4 separate regions of the Homo sapiens genome follow, and all the other regions are linked to region 1. Evidence: promoter capture Hi-C in 16 types of primary human blood cells and fetal thymus (Javierre and others, 2016). All regions are on one chromosome and are shown on one strand. Each heading gives the region's core, a stretch centred on a gene start or on the middle of the fragment in contact. The rest is flanking DNA. Distances are from core to core; before and after follow the strand shown. Region 1 holds the start of KRT222 (keratin 222). Region 2 holds the start of KRT34 (keratin 34). Region 3 has its middle 12 kb from the start of KRT32. Region 4 holds the start of LOC124904004 (a long non-coding RNA gene).

What was found. The method cuts DNA at HindIII sites, captures the fragments that hold promoters and counts their contacts. A CHiCAGO score of 5 or more calls a contact.
Region 2: a contact is called between the fragment with the promoter of KRT34 here and the fragment with the promoter of KRT222 in region 1, in 1 of 17 cell types (M0 macrophages). The highest score is 5.8, in M0 macrophages.
Region 3: a fragment that was not itself captured here is called in contact with the fragment with the promoter of KRT222 in region 1 in 1 of 17 cell types (M2 macrophages); the score reaches 5.9 in M2 macrophages.
Region 4: a contact is called between a fragment that was not itself captured here and the fragment with the promoter of KRT222 in region 1, in 2 of 17 cell types (total B cells and erythroblasts). The highest score is 5.4, in total B cells.

The regions. Positions count from the first base shown.
Region 1 is chr17:40,663,543-40,666,915 of GRCh38, reverse strand. KRT222 (keratin 222) reads left to right here and starts at 1,739. Exons shown (of 6, transcript NM_152349.3): 1 at 1,739-1,912. The coding sequence starts at 1,817. The HindIII fragment of the contact is 3,418 bases long and covers 1-2,553 here.
Region 2 is chr17:41,380,845-41,384,206 of GRCh38, reverse strand. It overlaps KRT34 (keratin 34), which reads left to right and starts at 1,901. Exons shown (of 7, transcript NM_001386014.1): 1 at 1,901-2,308; 2 at 2,412-2,494; 3 at 2,995-3,151. The coding sequence starts at 1,961. RefSeq lists an enhancer at 1,709-2,908. The HindIII fragment of the contact is 8,651 bases long and covers 1-3,362 here.
Region 3 is chr17:41,453,387-41,456,672 of GRCh38, reverse strand. No RefSeq gene overlaps it. Among named protein-coding and RNA genes, the nearest start is that of KRT32, 12 kb to the left of the region's middle. The HindIII fragment of the contact is 509 bases long and covers 1,778-2,286 here.
Region 4 is chr17:41,653,860-41,657,530 of GRCh38, reverse strand. It overlaps LOC124904004 (a long non-coding RNA gene), which reads left to right and starts at 2,397. Exons shown (of 2, transcript XR_007065756.1): 1 at 2,397-3,671. RefSeq lists enhancers at 2,586-3,282, 3,283-3,671. The HindIII fragment of the contact is 2,956 bases long and covers 370-3,325 here.

The sequences.
Region 1 (3,373 bases), core at 490-2,989:
GGTTTGCATTTGTGGTTTGTGTTATATTTCCACTGGACAGTGCTGCTTTATTTAGGGTGCATAAGAAATGCTGGCAGACCTATTTAAAATGCAGATTGCCAGGACTGACCCTCCAGGGAATCTAGTTCAGCTCTCTGTGTTTCAGGCGGATATTAGCAGGAGCTACCTAAAGTAGCAGGAAGCATTTAATTCATTGCTCCCTGAATTTAATTTAGGAATTTAATTCATTGCTTTCTTCTCTCTCCTCCACTCCCAAGCCTAATTCTCTTCATATTTCTCAGTCCCAGTTACCAAGAAAGAGAATCAGTTTGGCCTAGATAATCATTAATGACTCTCTTTAGTCAGAGCTTTCTGTCTCAGCCTACTCCAAAGGTCTCTGACCAATCTATAGATAATCAAGTTGTGACTGATGGGGAAGGTGCAGGAGGTAGGGAGGGGTGGGTCAGAAATAACCTGGAACCTCTCCTCTCACCAGGAGCTGTGGGTAGGACAGCTTTGTTTGGAGAGGGCTGTGAGAATGCCCAGCATAGACTGGCCTGGCCAGATGTGAGTTAATTCAGAAATTAAAAGAGCAGGACATGCATGCAAAGGCCCTGTAAGGGCTAGAACCCAGGTCTGATTATCTCCTGAACTGTGCTCCAGATACAATTCAGCCAAAGCCACTCCACAAATAACAATAATGATAGATCCACTCTCACGACATATTTCTGTCACATCTAGCAACCAGCTGGCAAGATTAAACCAGGAATTTAGAAGGGGAGAGAGAGAACGCAGAGGCAGATATGCAGGGGTAATACATGGAACACAAGCAAGTTGTCAAAGAGCCAGTCCCAGTGATGTCATACATCACTGAGCAACCTTGGGCAAGATGCCTCAACCTCTCTGGCCTCAGTCTTTTCATCTTTACAGGTTAGAAAATGTCAGGGATTGCAAGGATTGGATGGAATGATACGCCAAATACACCCTCCGAAGGGCTCAAGTGATTGCAACGATTGGATGGAATGGTACACTGACTACACCCTCCAAAGGACTCAAGGGTTCTTTTGGTGAATACACCAAAAGGTCTATTTCTTCATCCTTGTTAAAACTTTGGAAATGTTAACTCACAACTCTCATAGTCTACCAGCACTTATCTGCAACATTTTGAGAAAACTAAATATAATTTTCTTTTTTTTTTTTTTTTTTTTTTTTGGAGATGGAGTCTCACTCTGTCACCCAGGCTGGAGTGCAGTGGCTCAATCTCGGCTCACTGCAACCTCCACCTCCTGGGTTCAAGCAATTCTCCTGCCTCAGCCTCCCGAGTAGCTGGGATTACAGGCACCCACCACCACGCCCAGCTAATTTTTGTATTTTTAGTAAAGACAGGGTTTCATCATGTTGGCCAGGCTGATCTCGAACTCCCGACCTCAGGTGATCCACCCACCTCAACCTCCTAAAGTGCTGGGATTACAGGCATGAGCCACCATGCCCGGCAATTTTCTTATGTTATGCCCCATTTCCTTTTCACAAAAATGAACTCCCCCTCCCCTCAAAGTGCTCAATTTTTACAGGGAACCAGTACAGGTTTTTGAAATTTTCCTTTCCTTCATGAAGAATCTGACATTTCTACTATACCAATAACAATAGGAGCAAAGAGTTTACCCTGTATTTGCATAATTAGTTAGAAAGATGAGAATTTCCGTGGCCTCCGAAAAAGGAGCTCTGCATCTTTAAAACTCTGCGAGGCTCCCTGCCTTCCGCGCAGACCGAGCAGACTGCCGCAGCGACTCATCCTATCGATAAGGTTCAGTTAGCCAAGGTGGAGGATGGGAAAAGAATGGAACTGTCCCAGCTACTCAATGAGATCAGGGCAAACTATGAAAAGATCCTCACCAGAAATCAGATAGAGACGGTGCTCTCAACAAGGATCCAGGTAATGATTTCATACAGACAGGCACCTTCCAGAATAAGGAGACAGTCCATGTCTACCCAATTCCTGTCCCGGCCTCTCTGAGGTACAGTATTTCCTTTTCGATGCAGCATCTATTGGGGAAGGAATTTAGCTTCTACTGCAGTGTGACTGGGACTACAGGGGGAAATACTGTGATTATATTGTTAAATTGCCATTAAGTAAGTGTTGATTGATGCATTTGATTTTTATATAAATTGTGAGGTTCCTATCATTAACATGGGGTCAACATACCATAAAATGGTGCACTCTAACCTCTTACAATCTTCAGGAAGGAACCATTCCAAATACCCTTCAAAGATATTATTGGAGTTATTTACAGAGATAATTTAAATAACATCTTTAAAATGAAAAATCTTTAAGTAAGATTTATTAGCATGTACACTTTCTAGAGATATTTCTAAAAGGTTTCTATCATCTTTTTAACGAGTTCCATTTTATACCAGATTGTTATAAATAGAAATCATCTGAGTGTGTGAACATGGCATTCAGAAACAATGATATAAATTATGACCATTGAAATTCCCCAAATTGGTAACGATTCTCCACTAAGATTTTTGCTTCTGTACTATAAGATGAGAAACATTTCTTTCCATTACAAAGCTTGTAATATTTAAGTATTTAAAAAAGAGAAAGAGAGCCTACTTAGATAAGGACTAAATCCTAATTTCATAGACTTAGTTTTAAAGTAACAATCACCTTCAGCAAGTAATTAAGGTCTCAAGTCTTTAAACAAATTTACAAACAAATATTTTAGAAACAAAGATTAAGAAATTTAGGGGATTTTTTAGTTTACCTATCATATATGGGTTCAAGTTATCTTCCAAACCCTGAAATACAGCAAAAAGTTTACTTAAGAATATCACCCAAAATTTTAAAAAAAAAAATTGGTAGAAAAATGTCAGGCCTTTATTCCATTAGCCACTCATTTTTAGTTCCATTGTAAATTTCACCTCTAGATAACATTTTCAGCCTTCATAAAGAATGATCAACATCTTAGATTAAGCAAAGTCACTGGTACAGGTAAGCATTGGGATAGTTCATTCACCTTTACAAACAGAAGAAAAAAATCAATAGATGACAACTTCTAAAAATCATAAACAAAACACTTAACTTTGCAGTAGTAGAAATATGAGTTTAGTTTACAAGTCACAGGGCCAAAATGAGTAAATTCAAATGAAAAAGCAAGACTACGGTGAGTTTTGTTTAAAGTGTCTTTTAATTTGAAACTACTTTAGAGGATTTTCTTCCAAATAACTCAGAAAGTCAGCTGAAATAAATTCAAGACAGCCTGATTAGTTATTTTTTTAAATTTCTAAATAAGCTATTTTAGTTACAGATTGTTGTATAACACCCCAAAACTCATCTGGGACCTCAATCGTCTTGGGGCATGACTGGGCTCACTTATGTGTCTGGCACTTTGGC
Region 2 (3,362 bases), core at 652-3,151, 720 kb before region 1:
GAAACAGAGTTTTTTTGAAAGACACAGAAAATTTACAAACCTCTAGATAGACTAAGAAAAAAAGAGGAAACACTCAAATAAATAAAATCGAAGATGTGCTTTTCTGCTCCTCTCATGCTGCTTTTGAAATTCAGATGCAGCCTTCTTTAAATGATTTGTATTGTGTTCCACAAATAATCTTTTGGGACTTCTTTCTGAAACATGACTTTGTTTCCCTGCGGAACAAAGGCAAGGTAGAGTGACAGGGAAAAGAAGTGAGGTAGGGAAGGCTATTCTGTGAAGAGTGATTATTGGGCAATAGAGAGGCTCCCTAGGTTATGCAAGAGTCAAAGGGTAACTGGATCCCAGAGGTGATAGAAGCACACTTATCAGAGACAGTGTCTACTTGTAGGGACAACAGAGTAAATCTGCATTCTCATGGGCACTGTGGCTTGTCCTGGAAGCATCTCAGGCTGGCATAGTCATACCTCTAGGAGAGTTAATACTCTAGAAAGAGGAACAAGTCTAGAAATAAGATGATAGAAATTTCCAGAGAATTTGAGAAAAAGCCACCATGGATACAAAGATACCTCTGAGCACCCTTGCTCCAATTTTCGTTTCTTGGTGAGTCTGCAGTATTATGCTTCATATTCATGCTTCAGTGCTGCCATCTGAACTCTCACTGCTCCAGACTGTTTCCAGCATATTTTTTCTTCTAGATATTTCTACTCTTGCTCATCTTTAGAGAGGCTGTTGCTTTAGTACAAGTTGGCAAATTTTTTAATTTTAGGGCTTTGTGGACACTATAGTCTCTGTCACAACTACACAACTCTGCCACTGTAGCACAAAAGCAGCCATATACAATAGCTAAACAAATGGGCATGGCTGTGTTCCATTAAAACTTTATTTACTGCCGGACGCATTGGCTCACGCCTGTAATCCCAGCACTTTGGGAGGCCGAGGCGGGCGGATCACGAGTTCAGGAGTTCAAGAGCAGCCTGGCCAACATGGTGAAACCCCATTTCTGCTAAAAACACAAAAATTAGCCGGGTGTGGTGGCGGGCACCTGTAATCCCAGCTACTCGGGGGGCTGAGGCAGATAATTGCTTGAACCCGGGAGGTGGAGGTTGCAGTGAGCCGAGATCGTGCCACTGCACTCCAGCCTGGGCGACAGAGTGAGACTCTGTCTCAAAAAAAAAAAAACAGAAAACAAACAAACAAAAACTTTATTTACAAAAATTCAGCAGGGTAAACTTGACGTGTGGGCTGCCATTTGCAGATGCCCTCTTTTAGGTATACTCCCATCCATTCCATTGGTTTCCATTTTACTTTCTCATTTCTCAACCATGAACATGCCATTGTTTTCAGTTGCTCCATGTGTTGGCAAGTTCCCTAAACCCCAACGAATAGTAAGGCTCAGGATCATTTCGGCGAATACAGGTTGAGTTTCTGCTATAAAAACAAATTGAATGCTGAAACATGGATGAATGTGGGAGGAAAGAGCTACTTGGAAGAGTAACTCTCAAAGCTCTCTCTCAGAGCTCTCTCTCTGGGGAGAAAGAACAGTGGCGGAAACTCCTGGGTGAGGAATCCCTGATTCCCAAACAACTCCACCCCATGTCCCTGGCTGTCCTCCCCTCTGAGTAATGCAGACAGCCTTTTGGGGCTGTGATGATTCTATCTCCTATGAAGCCATCTGATGAAACTCTGATTTCACCAACCACTAGCACCCAGGAAGAGCCTGGTGTGACATAAGCTGAATGGAATAATTTTATGGGTTGAGGGGGGACTCTTTAGAAGCATCTAACTAGCATATTTTGGAGAAAAATTAGCTGAAGCATTAGGAAAGGAAACTATGCTGTATGCCAAGCCCCCACCCACAATTAATGGTATAAAAGGACTGCAGAGGAAGGAGAGACTCAAACCTGCCCACATCCACCTCCAGCAGCTTACCTGCTTTTCCATTACCTGTTCCAGCACCATGTCTTACAGTTGTTGCCTGCCCAGCCTGGGCTGCCGCACCAGCTGCTCCTCCCGGCCCTGCGTGCCCCCCAGCTGCCACGGCTACACCCTGCCTGGGGCCTGCAACATCCCCGCCAATGTGAGCAACTGCAACTGGTTCTGTGAGGGCTCCTTCAATGGCAGCGAGAAGGAGACTATGCAGTTCCTGAACGACCGCCTGGCCAGCTACCTGGAGAAGGTGCGTCAGCTGGAGCGGGACAACGCGGAGCTGGAGAAACTCATCCAGGAGCGGTCCCAGCAGCAGGAGCCCTTGCTGTGCCCCAGCTACCAGTCCTACTTCAAGACCATTGAGGAGCTCCAGCAGAAGGTGAGGGGGTTGGCCATATGGGGGGCCAGCAGCAGCTGGCTCTCTTTGAACAGTAAGACATTTTCAAGTTCAAGTGTACCTCATGAGAGAAATTTCTTTTCAGATTCTGTGTGCCAAGGCTGAGAATGCCAGGCTGGTGGTGAACATTGACAATGCCAAGCTGGCCTCTGACGACTTCAGAAGCAAGTATGTTGAACTTCAAGGTCCCTATGGTTCTTTCATGGCCCTAGGGACCTACTATTGCCTGGAAGAGAGGAGAAAGCCATTTCTCTCTATTTCTCCTCCTAGGGCTGGTTATGTAAAATTAGTTTCAAATAGGGAACTAGACTCATGTGCTGCCTGCTCTTTGGTCTATACTGGTTTTTTTTGGAAGTGTTTCTTAAACCACAAAATTCAGAGATTGAAATGAATTGTTCTTTGGGAATTGATTTGGTGGTATATTAGCTAACAAAACCGAGAACACAGTGAGAGACTTCATCTCATGTGTGCCTGTGGGCTCCTCGTGGTGTTAGGTGAGTCAGGGAACCTCTTCAGCCTATCCATGGACAGCTTGACTGAAGCATATGGAAGAGAAGAGGCAGAAAACTGTAAGTTCAAGAAGATTCAGGCCAATTCTACCCAAACAACACATGAGAGGGGAAGGTGGTTTTCTTTCCTGACTTATCCTCCCACTCCGACACGTGCAGGTACCAGACGGAGCAGTCCCTGAGGCTGTTGGTGGAGTCGGACATCAACAGCATACGCAGGATCCTGGATGAGCTGACCCTCTGCAAGTCTGACCTGGAGTCCCAGGTGGAGTCCCTGAGGGAGGAGCTGATCTGCTTGAAGAAGAACCATGAGGAGGTATGAAACAAATTCACAAAAGCAGGCCTCAGAACTAAGCTACTAGCACTGGGAATCAGGAGAGGATTACTGTCTGGATCCCTGGTCTGGGACCCTTCTCTGAGGAACTCAAGATGTTCTCAGAGAGTGACGGTGCTACATCCATATCAAGGAGTGGAGTGAGCTGCTCATTCTTCAGCGGCTGGGTGAGGGTTAGGCAGGTGTTGGAATT
Region 3 (3,286 bases), core at 783-3,282, 790 kb before region 1:
AGTTTATAGGGAAATGTAGGCAGGACCCTGGTCAAGTCATAAAACCTCTGTCATATTTGATGTTTTGGAGAAACCCTCACAGGTATCAGGGATCCTCTCTGAGCGGGATTGGAAAAGAAAAGGGTGTGCTTTTTAAAGACACCACTTTCCCCAAGGCTATTCAAGAGTTTGGGCCTCACCCCTGCTGCTCACTGCCCTAGTGCAAAGCACCCTCTTCTGGGGGTGAGAGTGAGGGCCCATGGGCAGAACTGCCATTCAAGGAAGACTGGCCAGAGGGCGACAGCTTCCCGAAAGATCCAGGAGTTGGGTTTGGCATCTGGGAGTTGGGGCTGTGTGTGGACTCTGAATTGCACTGACTGAATCTTTCTTCACCACTATATTAGGAAACCTTTTAGAGAGTGATCAAAAAAAGAATATGCCTCTTCCAGGGTATAACCAGGAAAATCATTAATAATAAAACAATATTCTTTTTGTATTTCATAATTTTTTTTTCTTTTGGAGAGAGAGTCTCGCCCCGTAGCCCAGGCTGGAGTGCAGTGGCATGATCTTGGCTCACTGCAACCTCTGCCTCCTGGGTTCAAGTGATTCTTGTGCCTCAGCCTCCTGAGTAGCTAGGACCACAGGCACATGCCACCATGCCTGGCTAATTTTTGTATTTTTAGTAGAAATGGGGTTTCACCATGTTGGCCAGGCTGGTCTCGAACTCTTGACCTCAGGTGATTCACCCACCTTGGCCTTCCAAACTGCTGGGATTACAGGCGTGAGCCACTGCACCCGGCCTGTATTTCATAAAATGTAACACTTGAATGCAATGATATCAATTCGGCTAAACAGAAAGTTCCTAAGATCATTTGATGTCTATCTTTTTGCCCAACTGATCAAGACAAATTTGTATTTAAATAGCAGTGTCCCTTAATCATAATATGTAAACAAAGTCACCAATGAGCATCTAGGATTAATGGAGAAGATCAGTGCCTTTGGCTTCAGAAAAACTGGGCTAGACCCCCAGTTCTGCTGCTAATGTGCTGTGTGATTTTGGCAGAACTCTTAATCTCTATGCATCTCAGTCTTCTCCCCTTTAGAAATGGGAGTAATTCTACCTTTTTCACAGAGTTGTTGGGATATAGTACATATAAAAATGCCTGTCATGATGCCTGGCATATTGTAGGTGCCTGATGAATGTTGAGTAAAGAAAACATGCTTTGGCAACAAATTTCTCTTCTCTTCTGACTTTCCCCAATTACAATGGCAGCTGAGTCATATTTTGGAGCCATTCTGAAGCCCAAGTTTCAGAAACAACAACAGCAGCAGCAGCAGCAGCAACAACAACATATGGGTAGCTTTGCTTTGCTCTAAGAGCATTGGATGAACTTCCAGTCTTGGTGTAAATGCCCTGGTAGAGTGAAGGCCCTGGTGTCTGAGGCTCAGCGTCCAGTCCTGGAGTTCACCATCCATTCCCAGGTGCCCTCCCTCTGCCCAGCCCTCTGGCTCCAGAGCGGACTGAAGGTCTCCCACATGCTTAAGGGGTCCAATTTTTAAGCCTCATTCACTGTGCTGTGTGAAGCAGGGATGGCAACTACAGCTCACAGGTCAAACCCCACTGCTACTTGTTTTGGTAAATCAAGTTTTATTGGAGCATAGCCACACCCATTCATTTCCCTGTTGTCTATGTCTGCTTTGTGCTACAATGGCAGAGCTAAGTAGTTGCAGTACAAAGAGAGTATACGACTTGCAAAGCCTAAAATATTTAGCATCTGTCTTTTTAACAGAAAAAGCTTGTCCATCTTGGTGCAGAGGAAACAGAATGTGCTAGGGGCCCTGGGACCAGTCCTGGCTCTGTATCTGACTTGCTTGGCATCCCTGGGGAGCTCACTGTCCTTCTCTGGTCTCTGAAGCACGAAAGGTTGAATTAGTACTTGGAAGTTTTCTTTAGTTCTAATAACTTAGCAGTCTTTGCTCTATTGCTCTTTAGGGATTCCTGAGGCTCTTATCAGAGAATTTTACTTTTTTGGGTATTGAAGGTCAGTGGAGAGGACGATTCATCTTAGAGCCAATGCCATTCCTAGAGAGAGGCCAGATAGTCACTCAAGGAACAAAGTCTAACTTTTCAATGGGGCATCTCTAAAGAGAAAACATTTAACATTTCTTTTCACAACAGAAGGCAGTAACAAGAAGTCCAAAGTCAGCCCTTTCTTTCATAAAGTGGGGAGCTACTTCTGAGGACTGAATAACTGCTGATGGGTTGTTCTGATGGCAGAACAAATGAGGATTCATTGGGGGAAAGCTTGTGTATCACATCTGCTCCTATGGCAGGTGAATAAAAGCTCTGGGTGAGGAAACACTCACACCTGAGCACCTGGCCCTTGTCACCAATCTGCAACTCAACTGTCTAGGACCATGGCTTCTAGTTAAAGCAGAAATCCCTGCTCCTCAAGCTTTGGCAAGAGCCATTTGAAGCCTCCTTGCTCCAGACAGGCTGTGGCCAGAAACCACTCTAGAAACTCTGTACCCAATGTCTGTAGATCCCAGTATTAAGACTGGGGCCCACCTGTAAGAGAGTCACCAACCTAGTAGCCATCTCCTTAGAACCTGTGGCTCACAGTCAGTCCAGCCTGGCCCTGCCAGCAGTCACTCTGCCTGTCCTCTGCCAGGGACCAGGAACATCCCTGCCAGTATGGGCACCTGTGGCTGGTTCAGTGAAGACATCCTCAGCAGCAGTGGGAAAGGGATCATGCAGTTCTTAAGTGAGTGCCTGGCCAACTGCTTGCAGAAGTTGCAGCAGTTGGAGCAGGAGAATGAGAAGCAGGGGTGGTGCTGAGAGCCAGCAGTGGAGCAAACGGCAGTGCCCTGACATATGCTCCAATTACTGCTCACACTTTGAGACCATTAAGGAGCTCCAACAAAAAGTAAGATGAGGCCTTGAGCTCTGGTGTCAGTGGCATGGAAAGAGAGGGCTGAGGATTGGTGATGGGAGAATTGGAGGGGTTGCCTGGGGGGATGACAGTCCATGAATGTTCATAAAGATGGATTGAAGGTGCCAGAAATAAACTGTGATGTCAAGGGCCCAACCACTTGGTTCTACAACCAGTTCCATTCAACAAGCATCATTGCTGATGTCTGCAATGAGAGGACTGTGAGTGGGATATGGATTTATTTCTTCACAATCCAGATCCTGCCTTATTTAAGGACATGCCACCATTCACTCACTAGTTATTGAGCACCAGCAATGAGTGATTGCATCGCTGGGTGCTGGGGAGCAGACAGTGCCTACAAAATGAAGCCTCAG
Region 4 (3,671 bases), core at 598-3,097, 990 kb before region 1:
CCCTGGGCCCAGGTAACAGGATGAGTCCAAGCAGGGATTCCAAGTCTGCCGCAGGGACCCGCCCGGTGCCAGAGTCCCCTGACAGGGAAGCCCCCGCCTCTGCCCCACCACATCCTTCCCCTGAACGCGCGGCTGCAAAACCACACTGGAATTCCCGAGGGTCAGTGCCGAAGTGGTCCCAAACTGAGGAGGACACTATGCATGGGGACAGAGGAGGGGGCCATGGGGTAAGGGGGACAGGAAAGGCCATCACAGCAGGGCCCAGAGGGGAACTGACCCAGGCTGAGCAGGAGTCCCAAGGAAGGGCCCAGGTGCTGCCTGCCACCAGGACCCCCGCATTACAGAGGCCTCTCTTGCAACAAGAAAGCTTGGAACTCATAGAGGTGTCCAGAACCTCCACATTCCAAATGATGGTATCATTCTTGGGGCAGGAGGGAAAGGAGGCAGAGCCTGTTCCCCACTCTCACTTTCCCAGATGCCACAGGGACCCAGACTCCCTGTGTCTCTCATATCCCGAGACGCAGACCCTGTCAGGGAAGGGGCATGTGGCAGCGGGGCAGGCATGCCTGTGCCAGGCTGGGGCCACCAAGCACTGGTGGCAGCATAGACCTTGGGGTCTCTCTGTGCACAGCAGGGCCACCAGCAGGGCCAGGGCAAAGGTCTTCATGGTGTGGGAACTGCTCATTCTCGCTCTCTCTGGCCGGGCTGCAAGGCAAGTGGTCCCTTCCCCTGCCCCGCCATCTTTTGGCCTCACCTTCCTCCCTCCCCATGGAAGGCCCACACTCCTGTGTTCCTTGTGGCACTGCCTGGTCACAATCTCAAGTCCTCTTCCTTTCTTCCCTACCTGCACCCCCCACCCCCTAATTCAAGCCTCGGCGTCTCCACCCTCCCCAAGCCATCCCTGCCCCATCAACGAGGGCCAGCTCTATGCCCCTGATGACCTGCCAGCCTCCTGAGCCAGGCTGTGCACTCTCTGACTGCCAGGCCAGCCTCTGTCCTGCTTCCCCTACTTCCTGCTCAGAGCCGGTCATGCTGAGGCTGCGATGGAGACCTGGGAGCAGGAGGCAGCAGGGGATTCCTTGGGCTGTGGCTCTCATCATTGCTGAGAGAGGGAGAAAGGGCCCGGCCATTCCTGACCACAGCCCTGGGCTCCTGCACTCAGCCGGGCACTCACTGCATGCCAGCCTCAGACAGGGCAGTAGGGCCGCCTGGATGTGTACTGAGCCCTTCCAGCCAGGGCTTCAAGGCCGGGTCACAACTCCCGGCTCAGTGCCCAACTCCTCAACCCCTCAGCATCCACCTGCCCAGCTCATGACAGGGAGGACAAAACAAAGGAGGCCCCTGTGGGACTACACAGGCCAGCTCCTGACACTATATAGGTGGGGAAACTGGGGCCCAGAGAGGGGCGGTGACTTGTCCAAATTCATGGGCCCAGAGCTGGGCTCCTAGGCCTCTCTCCCGGGCGGCCTGAGTTAGGCCGTGGTGCCGTCAGTCCCGGAAGGTTGGGACACCCACGGCAGTACCTGACTTGCCGGGGCCCAGCCTCCAGCCCACAGCCCTGCTTTGAGCAGCAAGGGAGGCTGCCCCGCCCCCAGCGTCTCCTCCTGCCTGACTGAGTTTCCCAGAGCCAGCAGAAAGGCAGGGCCGATGCAGGTCTGAATCCGCCCAGGGATCTGGCAGTCCCAGCTGGCTTGCCCTGCCCTCGAGCCCTGGGAGCGGGAAGTGAGCCTCCCCACCTCAAATCCTCCACCTTCCCTGCCACCCACACCTTCAGCCCGGGGCCCAAACATGGCAGGGAGCCAGGCCCCTCACCTCCCTCCTTGGTAACCGAGGCAAACACCCAACACTGGAGACTGTTTGTCCTGCCAACGCTGCACCCCAACCTGAGCCCAGACGCCCTGCCGCAGTTGGGAGAAGCCTGGCTGGGGGAGGGGACGTGGCAGGGGCAGCCAGAACCTGTGGGCTTGGGGACCCTTCCCCTCCACTCCAGTTCCCCAGGAGCTTCTGAGTGAGCACAGGGCAGCGGGGCTGTTGTCTCAGCACCTTTGACTGTGAGGCCCCCAACCTCAGCCTCTGCTCCACCCCTAAGACTGTGCGCCCGGAAGGTGGAGAAGGGCTGGCTGGGGTGAGAGGGTCTGTGCTTGAACTACAGCAGAGAAAGAGAGCAGAGGGAGAAAGTTCTCTCTGGCCAGCCCAGCTGTGGGAGGGCTCAGGGAGGGAGGCCAGTGGGCCCTTTCTTTGCAGGCAGGGAGGGATGGGAGATTCTACCAGCGCCAGACCTGGGGGGCTCTGCCTCCTGATCCCCAGGGTCTGGGTGGGCACCGTGAGGCACTCCAGCGTCGCGTTTGGGGGCTGGCTGGGTGGGCAAGGAGGTGGATGTCAGGGCCTGGGGAGGCTGGGGTAAGGTGGCGCCAGGAGGGGACGGGCAGTTTTTCTGGCCTTCACTGGCCTGTGGTTTCCGCAGTGCAGGGCATGGGACTGTGGGGCGATGGAGCAAGGAGGATGGAGTTTCTGTCCCTGGGAAGCCTCTTGTCTGAGGGGAGACATGCCCCGAGCCTTCAGGGACCGCCTAGTCGGAGGGGGAGACACAGCCCTTGTCCTGGGGAGTTTGGAATAACCGTATTGGGGCCAGGGACAGAGGATGATGGAGTCACCCTGCTCTGCATGGAGCACGGGACCACCCGGCCTCACGGGGCTGGGCAGACGCTTCTGTTTCTTCTGCATGGAGCACGGGATCACCTGGCCTCATGGGGTTAGGCAGACGCTTCTGTTTCTTAGGAAGAGGTCTGTTTGCTTCTCAAATGCTTCCCGGGAACCTCCTCCACCACTGCAGCCCTGCACTGTGGGCAGGAATGTCACTAGCCCCCTTTTACGGATGAGGAAACTGAGGCTCAGGCATCTGGGAAAATGTGCTGTGGGCAGCCCCCCCGGACAGAGCTGTGCTGGCACCCTCCAGACAGTGCAGGAGAAGGGCAGGTCCCACAGAGTCCCTGCTGTTCCCCCAAGTCCTGAGGCCAGGGGGTGCTGTCTCTACTCTCAGTCCCCTGCCAGGACCTGTCCCCTGGTTCAATCCCAGGCAGGCCAGCGGGGAGGGTGGGGTGGGAGACTTGGTTCTGCTGAGGCTGCAGCTTCCCTGGCCCACCTAGGCTGAGTCAGGGCTGGGCAGGAGCCGAGGGCAGCAGCTTTCCCAGGGCCAGCCCGGGCGGCGTCCGCATTCCTCACTTGCAGGGTGCGTCTGGGCTTGGCTGAGCCAGGTGTGCTGTGCCCCACCCAGGCCCCCGCCTGCAGCTGAGCCAGCTCAGCGCTGGGGCCTTGTAAGGAAGCTTCTGGCAGCCACCAGGAACGGGGTGTGGGAACTGCTTGGCTTGCATGTCCTTGCTGGGTGGGGTGCAGGCTGGGGGAGATCAGCCTGCTAGAGCCCAAGCTCCCACAGTGGCCAGGGCAATTGGGGTGCCCACTCCTCACCCCCTCCTCACACTCTGCTCTTGCCTCTGCAGTTGGAGAGCTGGAGGCCGAGGCCCCAGGCAGTCTGTGGTTTGGAGCTTTGGTCTTGGTCATTGCTCAGTAGATGCTGGGGGCAGAATGAAGGATGTTCTGAGAGCTGAGGTGGTGGTGAGGGCCCCGCAGTGGCCAGGAAGCAGCAGAGGGACACGTTCTGTTTGCTGCCTCCA